2 separate regions of the Homo sapiens genome follow, and region 2 is linked to region 1. Evidence: promoter capture Hi-C in 16 types of primary human blood cells and fetal thymus (Javierre and others, 2016). All regions are on one chromosome and are shown on one strand. The core of a region is centred on a gene start or on the middle of the fragment in contact, and the rest is flanking DNA. Distances in the headings are between cores, read along the strand shown.

Evidence for each region. The method cuts DNA at HindIII sites, captures the fragments that hold promoters and counts their contacts. A CHiCAGO score of 5 or more calls a contact.
Region 2: a fragment that was not itself captured here is called in contact with the fragment with the promoter of VASH2 in region 1 in 1 of 17 cell types (fetal thymus); the score reaches 5.1 in fetal thymus.

The regions. Positions count from the first base shown.
Region 1 is chr1:212,947,068-212,953,514 of GRCh38, reverse strand. It overlaps VASH2 (vasohibin 2), which reads right to left and starts at 2,974. Exons shown (of 8, transcript NM_001301056.2): 1 at 2,775-2,974; 2 at 1,697-2,176. The coding sequence starts at 1,972. RefSeq lists enhancers at 2,269-2,318, 2,839-2,988. The HindIII fragment of the contact is 4,785 bases long and covers 2,367-6,447 here.
Region 2 is chr1:212,551,887-212,558,333 of GRCh38, reverse strand. LINC01740 (long intergenic non-protein coding RNA 1740) reads right to left here. Exons shown (of 3, transcript NR_125985.1): 2 at 3,886-3,922; 3 at 2,268-2,491. Among named protein-coding and RNA genes, the nearest start is that of LINC01740, 9.4 kb to the right of the region's middle. The HindIII fragment of the contact is 213 bases long and covers 2,845-3,057 here.

The sequences.
Region 1 (6,447 bases), core at 1,725-4,224:
TGACAATGCTCTGCCCTGATTCAAAAGGCAAGAGGAACACAACAATCAGTGATGAAATGTGATTTGCGGGTGGGAGGGTGCTGCGAGGAGGATTTATGGTTGGTCTAAGAGCTTCCTAACAATCGACTCTGGCCAGGCCTAAGATCAGCTGCCCTGGGAAGCAGCAAGCTCCCCATTCCCAAGAGGTCTTCAGAAAGAGGAGGGGATTCTGTTGAGAGGTGGGAGACTGGTCTCTACAAACAGCAAAATTCCATGATTCCCACATAGAGAATGCACCCCCCCCCGCGCACCCGCATACATGGTTGGAGGAAGGATAAAAGCACAATTAGAGGCAGGGTTGGTACGGGTGCTACTAAGAAAGGCAGCATGGGACAGTAGGAACAGGCGTTTTTTTCCTTGTGGTCACTTTTCTTCCAAGTTTAAGGGCTCTCGGCTCCTCACTGGAGGAAAAATTCTCAAGTCAGAACTGCAAACCAGGAACAAAGGTTGTTCTCATATTCAAGAACTCAGCAAGGGTAATTATGGTTGACACTAAAGCAGGCAAGATTCTAGTTGGGCACAATGAAGATCTCCTTGACCAGCAGAGTAATAGAACACTGTAACTGACTGCAGCAGGAAGTTTAGAGGCTCTGTCACTTCTCCAAGGACACACACAGCTTTCTGGCCTGCAGGCTCAGATGCTCAGCTGTCACCAGGCTGGGGAATCAACCAGATGGCCTTCCGGGTCTCAAGTCTGGCATTCCTAGACCTGCCCAGGAATCTTCTCAGCCGTACCAGCGTCCCCAGGGTCCAGGGGAAACCATCCGCCACGCTATAACCCCGAGGCTCGGCAGCATTTCTCCCCAGTTTGCATTTTGATGTTTCATATAACGTATCTACTCCCACCAGGGTACATCTCCCTCCCTCGGTAAAGATATCCTTAGCCACCAAACCCAAATGGCTCACTGGCTTCTCTCCAAGGCAAAAAGAGAGTTTCACTCCTCATCCTCTTTTTCTATCCAGTGAGACTAATTCATCATGTGTACTGGAAAGTCCCTTTTAAGTCTCAGCCAAAAGTCTTTCTTTTTTCTTGGAGCACAAATAAGCTGGGAAGAGAGAGAGAGAGTTCACCGTTTTGCAAGTTTCAGAGGTGAAAGTCACTGTCACACACACACACACAAAAAAACCAGAAAGAAAAGAAAAAAAACTGGCAAAAAGTCTGGAAATTATTCACACTGAGAAGTCTGACTGGTTGATTTCAAATTCATTCACAGCTTAATAAATCATTTGCTGGGGGAAGAGGGGAGCAGAGGAGGAGCAAGACACTCCAAAGAGAACAAGCAGGGTGGGATCCCTGGGGTCTGTGCATTCTTTGGCATCGCTGGTACCTGGTGGCTCTAGCTTTTGCTGAAGGAGGATGTATGTGGGGGTGAGTAAATAATAGAGTTTGGCTGGAGCTTCAAAGACACCTTGGCACAATCCAATTACACAGTCCCAGGATAGCAAGCCCGCTACCTCTCCCTTCCCCATTTCTTAGGCTTCCAATCTAAATATCTCAATTAGAAAAGGGCTGGCAGGAAGGAATGGGGAGAGGAAGGGAGTTTGTAGCAGGACTAGGAAAATGGAGATTGCCTGTGTTTGCTATGTATAGGCTGAAACGGTCCCATCGCTGCCTACCTACCCCCAGCCCCCCAACTCCGCCCTGGAAGCCACTGACCTTTGCCAAGAAGGCGGCGTTCCTGATGGCGCCCACCATTTCTCCCCCCTTAGGGTGCACCTTGGCCACGTGCATCCACATGCGCTCCCAGGTGTGGCTGTCGATGGGGAAGCCGCTCTTGTTGACGTGGAACAGCACCCCGCCGTCTTTGTCCTCCTCCTCTGAGCCCCCGCTGGTGGCGAGGCTCACGGGCCGCGCGTGGCTGCTCCGGGACCGGGTGCCTTTGGCGCCTTTGGGGTGGGGGCAGCGGTGAGTGTCGGCCGCGGAGCCGGTCATGGTGGGGCCTGGGCGGGGAGCGAGGTACTGGGGGCGCGCGGCGGCGGCAGCGGCGGCGGCGGCGGGGGGCGTGTGCGCGCGGGCGCGGCGAGGGGATCAGCGCCCCGCGGGGGCGGCCTTCTCCATGCCTCTCGCTGCGGCAGGACTCACCAAGGGGGAGCGGCGGCGGGAGCTCCGCGGAGGCTCCCTGCTTACCGGCGGTGCCTGAAATCAGCGGAGACACAGCTGACACCACAGCTAAGTGGACGCACAGCGGAACCGAGTGAGGGGTCCCGGAGTGTCTCCACGACACTCCCCGCTCCCCCCTGCACGCTGACAGCCTCCCTGAGAATCGATGACGGGCTTCCAGCCCTGCGATTACCTAGAAAGGCAGCTCAAAATGTGCCACGAAGCTTCACACACACCTAAACCCGGGGGGTTGGGGATGGAGGGGCACAAGGAGCTTGGGGGATGCGGAGCGCAAGATGTGGGGAGAAGAAAGACAGCTTGTGTAGCATGAAGGAACAGGAGGTTCCCGCAAGGCTCCACACATTCCTGGGTCCTCAGATGTGGCCAAGAGAGGAGGGGAGCCACGAACGTGCTGGCATGTGAGCGCCCAGAGCTGGCGCGAGGGCGCTGCAGCAGCCTTGGCTTGCAAGGCGGCCCGCTTTCTTCCAGGAAGCCCTCCCGGACCCCGGCGGGGATCTAGTGGAAAGAGCTCCATCCGCCCCCTTTTCCCCGAGTTCCAGCGCCTATCACCGGGAGGGACTGGCTGCAGGCGGGCGGCGCGCAGGAAGGGCGCGCGGCAGCTCCAAGATCCTACCTCGGGACGGTTGGCTTCATGGCTGCAGAGCCTCTCCGGGCGGCGGGAGAGCAGGGGCTGCTGCTGCTGCTGCTGGGCCTGGGGCTGGGGCTGGGGCTGCTGGGGCTTGCTGGGGCCGTCGCCTCATTCCATGTCCCATTCTCGAATGTTATTCTGTGACATATAACCAAGTCACCCGGGCAGCCGCCGATGTTCCGAATGCGTCTATTGGCCACCGCAACAAAGAGGGGCGGGTCCCGGGCTCGGGACTCTACAACCCCGGGCTCCGCGACGCTCTGATTGGCTCCAGGGGTTCTCTGGCGGGAGGGGACAGGAGTAGGGGGAGCCTGGCGGCCACGCGAAATCCGATCGCTGTGGTGTCCTGAGAGCCCCGCGGGCTGGAGCGTTTGGCCATGGGACTTAAGATCGAGTTTCCCCAGGGGTCGTGGCACTTCGAGGGTTTGCAACTGTGGAAGCAGAGGAGAAACAAAACCACCCGAGAAGTGACCCCGCGGAAGCAGAGGGTTTGGCATCAGAAGAGCATTCCCTGAGGGACGCTGGACACACTTACCTGCCTCTACCCGGGATGATGAGTTGTTCATCCTCTACCTGGGATGATGAGGGGCTGTTCATACCTATGCGTGAAATTAAATCTTTTTTAAATCCCGCATTTAAAAATTCCTCAAAATTAACAAGTGGGTGCAGCTTTGGATCCTCTGGTATTAGTCATGGTTAATAAAGTCCCTTTAAGCCCAAGTTGAGAGGAGACAATAAAACTCAAGAGGTCAGGCAGGCCCTGACTGTTCTGCCACAGCTGTTGAGTGAGAGGAGGGATGGAGAGATGCTTCCAAACCATGGTGAAGTGGGTGGCTATCCCACACTCACTACTGAAACACCTTCTCTTTCTTTTTCTTTAAGAAAGAGGAGAGCAGGTTGAGGTGGGAAGAGCACCAGACTGCTGACCTGAAGGCTGGCTCCTGGTCCAGGTTTGTCACTTTGCTCAGCTGTGTGACCCTGGACAAGCCACTTCCCTGCTCTGGGCCTTAGCTTCTCTTTCTGAAAGGAGAGCAGACCTCCCGCTCTCCAGGGTCTGTTCTGGCTGTAAGGTTCTGTGATTCCCTGACTTCCTCTCTTGTGACACTGAGGATCCTGGCCATAGCATCCTTTCTCTTTAAACTGCAGGCCAGCAGGCCAGCTCTGAGCAAAGCAGTTATGAGACCTATGCTAAGTGAACCTTGAATTAAGAAGACAGTTGTCAAAGTGCCACTGATGGCGGGTCAGTTTCTGGATGCTTATCCTGACAAGTTGCCTGTCATGGAACTGGAACTTCTCTTCCACAGGAGGGCAGAGACCCCTGAGGGGTAGTTGAGAGCCAGGGCTTGGGTGAGGAGACCTGGATTCTGGACTTAGCCCTGCACTGCTCCCTGAGACAGAGCCCATGCCAAGAACTTTATAGATTCAATAATGAGAATAGGGCAGACGTGGTGCCTCACACCTTTAAACCCAGCACTTTGGGAGAAAGAGGAGGAAGGATTACTTGAGGCCAGGAATTAGAGACTGGACCAACATAGCGAGACCTTGTCTCTACTAAATAAATATTTTGAAATTAGCCAGATGTGGTGGCACACACCTGTAGTCCCAGCTACTCAAAAGGCTGAAGTGGACATGTAGAATGAAACTGGATCCTCGTCTCTCACCTTACACAAAAATCAACTCCAGATGGATCAAAGACTTAAGTCTAAGACCTGAAACCATAAAAATTCTAGAAGATAACATGAGAAAAACACTTCTAGACATTAGCTCAGGCAAAGAAATCATGACTAAGACCTCAAAAGCAAATGTAACAAAAATGAAAATAAATAAATGAGACCTAATTAAACTAAAAAGGGTCTGCACAGCAAAAGAAATAATCAGCGGAGTAAACCGACAATCCACAGAGTGCGAGCAAATATTCACAAACTGTGCATCTGACAAAGGACCAGTATCCAGAATCTACAAGGAACCCAAACAGATCAGCCAGATAAAACCAATCCCATCAAAAAATTGGCAAAGGACATGAATAGACAATTTTCAAAAGAGGATATACAGTCAACAAACATATGAAAAAATGTTCAACATCACTAATTATCAGAGACATACAAATTAAACCACCATAAGATACCATCTTACTCTTGCGAGAATTGTCATAAAAGTCAAAAAATAATAGATTTTGATGTGGATGTGGCAAAAAGGGAACATGCATAAAACTGCTGGTGAGAATGTAAACTAGTACAACCACTATAGAAAACAGCAAGATTCCTTAAGGAACTAGAAGTAGAGCTAAAGCTACCATTCGATGCATCATTCCCATGGCAGGGTATCCACCCAAAGGAAAAGAAGTCATTATATGAAAAAGACACGTGCACATGCATGTTTATAGCAGCACAATTTGCAATTGCAAAAATATGGGACCAACCTAAGCGCCCATTAACTAATGAGTGGATAAAGAAAATGTAGTATATAGGCCGGGCGTGGTGGCTCATGTCTGTAATCCCAGCACTTTGGGAGGCCCAGGCAGGCGGATCGCGAGGTCAGGAGATCCGAGACCATCCTGACTAACATGATGAAACCCCGTCTCTACTAAAAATACACAAAATTAGCCGGGCATGGTGGTGGGCGCCTGTAGTCCCAGCCACTCGGGAGGCTGAGGCAGGAGAATGGCGTGAACCTGGGAGGCGGAGCTTGCAGTGAGCTGAGATGGCGCCACTGCACTCCAGCCTGGGCAACAGAGCAAGACTCTGTCTCAAAAAAAAAAAAAAAAGAAAGAAAGAAAATGTGGTATATATACACCATGGAATACTACTCAGTCATAAAAAGGAATGAAATAATGTCTTTTGCAGCAACTTGGATGAAGCTAGAGGCCATTATTCTAAGTGAAGTAACTCAGGAATGGAAATCCAAAAATCATATATTTTTATTTATAAGTGGGAGCTAAGCTATGAGGATGTAAAGAATGATATAATGGACTTTGGGAACTCAGTGGTGGGCCGGGAAGGGGAGGATGAGTGTGAGGGATAAAAGACTATATATTGGGCCTGGTGGGGTGGCTCATGCCTGTAATCCCAGCACTTTGGGAGGCTGAGGCGGGTAGATCCCCTGAGGTCAGGAGTTCGAGACCAGCCTGGCCAACATGATGAAACCCCATCTCTACTAAAAATACAAAAATTAGCTGGGCATGGTGGCACAGCACCTGTAATCCCAGCTACTCAGGAGGCTGAGGCATGAGAATCACTTGAACCCAGGAGGCGGAGGTTGCAGTGAGCTGAGATTGCACCACTGCACTCCAGCCTGGGTGATGGAGTGAGACTCTGTCTCAAAAACAAAACAAAAACAACAAAAAAAGGGCTACATATTGGGTACAATACACACTGCTCAGATGATAGGTGCACTAAATTCCCAGAAATCATCACTGAAGAACTTATCCATGTAACCAAAAACGATGTGTACCCCAAAAACTATTGAAATTAAAATTAAAATTTTTTTAAAGGCTGAGATGAGAGGATTGCTTGAGCCTAGGAGTTCAAGATTATAGTGGGCTATAATCACACCACTGCACTCCAGCCTGGTTGACAGAGTGAAACTCCATTTCTAAAAGTAAAACAAAAATAAATAATGAGAATAATACCTTAGGTTCATAGAGACAAAGGAAATGGGC
Region 2 (6,447 bases), core at 1,702-4,201, 400 kb after region 1:
CTGCGCGAACCAGTATGACCTTCCAGGAACCAGATGAGAGCTGCGTTTTCAAGAAGCAGTGCCAGACACCTTGGGAAATCGACACTCTCCTGTCCTTGGGTGGGGGTGGGGGTCCTGGAAAGAAGCTCCGTCAGCGTAAAGTGAACTCTTAGCTTTGACTTTGCAGAGGGATCCGTTGTGTCACAGTGACCCGCATTCCTGTCATTGGTGTGGTGTGTTTCACAGCCATTGCCTCCCTAGGTAGATTGTAAAACGGCGTTCGTAGAGCCTTTGACCTCATAATATTATGTTGGAAATTACACGATAGTAAACATAATGATAAATGGGGAATGTTAAATGGTAGTATGGGAACATTTTCTAATGGTTGCATCCTTAAAATTTTCTGTTTCAAGTTTTTAAAGGCTATAGCCTTAAAAAAAGCTGACTGTAGGAAAATGGTGGAAAGAGTCGTGGAATAAAGGTAGCTTTGGGGATTATGACGTGAATAAATGACAGAAATTAGTATGTGTCATTTTCCTTTGTTTTCCAAAAATACCACAATGTCCTTTGTAAATTGGAAGTTTTTCAGATGTGCATGTGGAAGCTGCAAGATTTTTAGGGCTTTATATCCATCTTAAAACTGGTTTTAAAGGATTGGCAATTACAATCTAATACTGGTATTTGTAGCAAATACATCCAGAGGTAGGCATACTGGTTTTTTAATATTGTTATATGGCAACAAAGGTCTCTTTGTCCTAATTTGTAGGACAAAGTTGCAACCACATTTTCCTCAATGTAATGCTTATGGGGGGAGGGTCTTAAATTGATTTGAAAGCAGGTTGTATTAGGATTCTCCAGAGAAACAGTACCAATAGGATATACAGGCATACCTCATTTTATTGTGTCTCACTTTATTGCACTTTGCAGATAATGTGTTATTTACAAATTGGTACCGTTGGTACCGTTTTTTCCAACAGCATGTGCTCACTTTATGTCTGTCAGCATTTTTTTAGCAAGAAAATATGTTTAAATGAAGGTGTGTACTTTTTTTAAAGTCATAATGCTGTTGCACACTTAAGACTACAGTGTAGTGTAAACATAACATATATGCACTGAGAAACCAACAAATTTGTGTGGATCCCTTTACTGTGATATTTACTTTACTGCAGTGGTCTTGAACCAAACCTGCAATATCTCTGAGGCATGCCTGTGTGTGCACATATATGATTTATTATAAGGAATTGACTTATGCAGTGATGGAGGCTGGCAAGTCCCAAGATCTGCAAGGTGAGTAAGCAAGCTTGAGACCTAGGAGAGCTGATGGTGTAGTTCTAGTCCAAGTCCAAAGGCAGGAAAAAGCCCATGTCACAGTTCAAAAGTAGGAAGAATTCACTCACTTTGGGGAGGGTCAAACTTTTCATTCTATTCAGGCCTTTAAATGATTGGATAAAGCCCACCTACATTATAGAAGGCACTCTGCTTTCGTCTGTCAATTTAAATGTTAGTCTCATCCAAAACACCCTTACAAAGATAACCCCAGAATAATGTTTGACCAAAATATCTGGGCACCCCATAATCCAGTCAAGTTTGACACAGAATTAACCGTCACACTGACCTATCTGATTTCTAAAGATCTTGGCCTTAAAATTGTGACTTTGGTCTCTAAGGCAATTATGAGGGTGAGTTCTTTGTAAATGGTTTCTCGGATGTATTTGCTTCTATTGAAACCTTAGTAGAGAGGACCCGTCATTTAATTACCTCTTCCTATGTTCTTGATAGTCTTTATTTTTAAAATCTAGTTCAGTTGAATATAATAATTTCTTTCACCTTTTTTAGAAGCTGAGCTACAGTTATGTTTTAGGAAGCTAGTTGATCTATCCAGTAATCTATCAAGTAATGTTGATCTGTCAAGCAAGTTAATCTATCAAGTAATGAAGCTAGCTGGTATTAAATAATTCTTTGTTTTTAACTATTAAATACAGGGCTTTGGGTATGTAATATAAGCAGCATTATGGTAATATTCTGGAAGTTTCAATTATTGCAATGATTGAGAGCATTAGAGTGTTATTTTCTGTTTGAGATATTTTTTAAGATAGTGTTGCTTCAGGAACATTGTAGTCATAATATTTTGCAGTCTAAATCCTTATTTTAAAAAATCTCATAACTTTTTATATCCTATTTAAAAGTATTGATATTGATATATTGGATTGGATTATTAGCTTTATAAATAAATACAATCACTGGACCTCTGTCAGTCCCAAAAACAAAACTTGTTTTGCACCTAAATTGTTTATTTTATTTTATTTTATTTTTAGCTGAGTAGTTAAGATTTCAGGCCTTTTTAAAAAGTCATGTGTTTAGGTATAATTTACATGCAGTAAAATTCACCCTTTTAGGTATAAAGTTCTGGAATTTTGACAAACATAGTCATGTAATCATTACCACAATCAAGACAAAACATTTCCATCACCCCAGGAAGTTCCCTTGTGCTCCTTTGCAGTCAATCCCATTCCTGAAAATAAAATTTTAAATAAAATTAATAAAACTTTCTAAAAACATGTCTGATTCATGCCACTGTCTGTCACCATCATAAATGGACTTACTTGGTCTCAATATGGAATTCACAAGTTATCACATCAGTCGAATAATTATGTTCTTGCTGATTTAGTCAAAGTGAGATCATTCAGTGCTCAATGGATGGCTGCATACTAACATTTAAGACTTGAGAGGATACAGCACAGCAGGGGACTATCATGATGACTGTTAGATAGGATTTGGTATTTAGGATAACACCAAAAAATGAAGCGTATTCCTTAACAGGAGCCCTGAGGGACCAAATTGATCCAAATCAAACAAGTCAAAGCTTAGGTAAGTAATATAGGCAGCTTAACAGTATTTGAGTCCATTTGGCCATAATCCTTATTCAAAGTGTGATGGAAATTAAGGACCACAGCTTGCTATAGAATGATCTGATTTAAATAAGTATCCAATTTTGTCATTAACTTGATAACACAAGCCTTAGTAACCTGGAGACCCACTAGAAGAACATAGATTAGAAAACCCTGGAAAAGCCAAGCTTGCCATCCACCACTCAGGATTCCTGCAAACCAACTGTTAGCTGCTGCCATGGACACAGCATGTGTTCCTTTCCCTTAAGAAATTTCCTTCATGTATTTGATGGCAGTGTCTAAAGAAACAGCAGTTTCACCTTTGTTTTTAGTTAAGCTTCCTCTAGTAACAAAATTAGGGGACAGACAGGCACAATATTCAGTTTTGTCAATACTATATACAAGCCTCCAATTTGGGCGAAAAGAAGCTCTAAGTCCACATGATGTTCCAGTAAATGTTTTTTCTTAAAACATATGCTGTCTGGGCGCAGTGGCTCATGCCTGTAATCCCAGCATTTTGGGAGGCCAAGGCGGGTGGATCACGAGGTCAGGACTTCAAGACCAGCCTGGCCGAAATGATGAAACCCCGTCTCTACTAAAAATACAAAAATTAGCCGGGCGTGATGGCACGCGCCTGTAATCCCAGCTAGTCGGGAGGCTGAGGCAGAGAATTGCTTAAACCCAGGAGGCAGAGGTTGCAGTGAGCCGAGATTGCCCCACTGTACTCCAGCCTGGGTGACTCCATCTCAGAAAAAAAAAAAAAAAGTATATATGCCATCATCCACCTTTCTCAAAGGATGACTTCTGCCCGTTTGAACCTCTGGGAGTTCTGGTTAGCCACAAAGTCCAGGATTTTTCCCCAATTTATGGATTGGTTTCAAATTCCATATGACTGATACACTACTACTGCCAAGAGTGAGCCCTCAAGAACCCCATTGGAATCATTCCTCAGTGGAAACTAGCTTATCTTCATAAGCCTAACAGTTGCTCTGGTTTTTTGCTAGAGCATAAGCCTTACCTAAAGCCATCCATAGATTATGGTTCCATGGATTTTCCTGCAAGGAAAAGGAAGTAATTAGGACATAAGGAAACAGGGGAGAAAGAAAAAAGATAGACCACAGTAAACAATTGCCAGCTGAGAATAACAAGACTTCAAATGTTCATAGTTAAAGATCTGATGAGAGTTCATTACGATGATAACACAATTGAGAAGGGAATTTGGTTATTTCTGTTGCATGCAACATTTTAAGATAGTAACCAGAATTATGACTGATAATGTTATTCCAGAACTATCAAATTTCTATGAATTTCACACAATTTCTGAAATATGTTAATAACACATTCATACAAATATAATCCAAAGAAGGTTTAGCCTTACTTCTTATTTGGCAATGCTTCCCGTATAATTTAATATACCAAGTAAGCCCAATTAGCTTAATATTTCTCTTTTCATAAGGAGAAAATCAACTTACAAAAGGCAGATTAATGGGAGAAAAAGCATACAAACTTATTAGCATGCATAGGGGAACTATCATAGAGTGATTACGCCACCATGCAATGGGACACAGATGCTTGTATATACCCTTCTTCTTAGGAGAAAGGGAGATGGGGAAGTGTGGATGATTTTAGGGTAGTAGTAAATGAATTTTGGGGAATTCAGTAGGCGTGAGGAACATACAATGGCCTGAGACAAAGTCTGTTGGGCCCGCAGAGCAGACAATGGTTTGTGACAAAAGTCTGTCCAAATTTGTTGACAAACTTCAGTTTTTCTTCCTGTGATATGAGTTCAGTTACTGAAAACTCAGGGAAGGGACCACAGGTAATTGTTTTCTTCTTTGGTGGACCCAAACTTTAGGCAGATCAGGGAACTTCAGAGAACAGATTGGCCTTGTGCTCTGGGAGAGAGTGCGGAGAGGGGTGGGGCATGCCAGAGAGACCTTGAGAGGCTTCATCTGAAGTTCAGCATGTTAAAGTGCCATACTTTAGGGTGTTGGTTTCTGAACCCCAGCACCATTGAAGGAGTTCAGGAAATGCCACCCCAAAATATGTATATTGGTATATATATTTTTTTGTATATTGATTACTTTGAGCTAAAGGCACTTGAAAAATTTCAAAATGGAGAGGTTCTCTGAGTTTCCCTCCATATGCCTAAAGACACATCCTGCAAGATGAAGTCAATTGTTACCAAACCTCTGATGATTAACTCTTATCACAGGAGAGGAGGCCAGAAGTCCACCACACCCAGACCTTGTCACAAACCATCATCTATTCATCTAAGGACTCATTCATCTTTCCCCAAAACCATTGACTCTGAAGATCTTTCTTTTCTTTACCCGCTGGTCATTTTACCCATTCCGGTAGTGGACTTGAGTCAAGGGACCCTTGCCCTTTTCTTTCTTTCTTTCTTTCTTTTGAAACTGTTTTGCTCTTGTCACCCAGGCTGGAGTGCAATGGCATGATCTTGGCTCACTGCAACCTCCGCCTCCCAGGTTCAAGGGATTCTCCTGCCTCAGCCTTCCAAACAGCTGGGATTACAGGCACCTGCCTCAGCCTTCCAAACAGCTGGGATTACAGGCACCTGCCACCATGCCTGGCTAACTTTTGTATTTTTAGTATAGACAGGGTTTCGCCATTTGGCCAGGCTGGTCTCGAACTCCTGAACTCAAGTCATCCACCTATCTCCGCCTCCCAGAGTGCTGGGATTATAGGCATGAGCCACTGGGGCCTGGTCCTTGATTGGCCCTTTTCTTGATTGGCCTGCCTGATTATTGCCCTATATGATTATTAGCTAGGCTGCTCATTGTAATCTCCGTCTTTTGGCTTTTATAATAAAATTTCTCTACACTGGGGCAAACAGAGCAGACTGAGTTTGGGGCTCCCTCTCTGCCAACCTTGGTTTGGCAGTGGCTGTCCTCCTCTACCTAAGGCCACCCTACCCACACAACTATAGCTCTCTCTGGCTTCTAAGAAGAGCTCTTTCCCCTGGCCTTTTCAGACCTGGGGGTGGAAAGGCTTCTTGCTCTAAGGATTCCCTGGCTGTTCCACCATTTATAGTCAGTTTTCCTTAACCCTAGCCTCACTTTTGTAAACAGTCACTTAATTGAATCATTTAAATCACACTTGAGGAGTTTGCTCTTGTAAGCAGGGCCTAAAGCAATCCTTTCCCGTCCATGTCTATCATTCCACAGAAAAAGTTTCATTAGGGACCATGGAGCAATAAAAAGCACTTTCATGTTTGGTTTGGTTTGATTTTGAAACGATTAGGTTGGTGCAAAAGTAATTGCCAAAGTAATTTTGCCATTGAGAGTAATGGCAAAAACCGCAATTACTTTTGCACCAACCTAATAATAAATGTCTCAATTCACTAGTTGGGAAGCTAAAAGTAGTGCTTGCTTTGGCAGCACATATAGTAAAATTGGAACGATACAGAGAAGGATGACAGGCAAATTGGAGAAAACTAAAAGTAAAAAGTATAAAATGTAGCAAATGTGAAAATAGAGAATACTTCAAGTCTTTACTGTGGCCATGTAAGTGGGGAAGAGAGAAAGGAGGCAAAGCAAATATGAAGGGGAAAGTGACA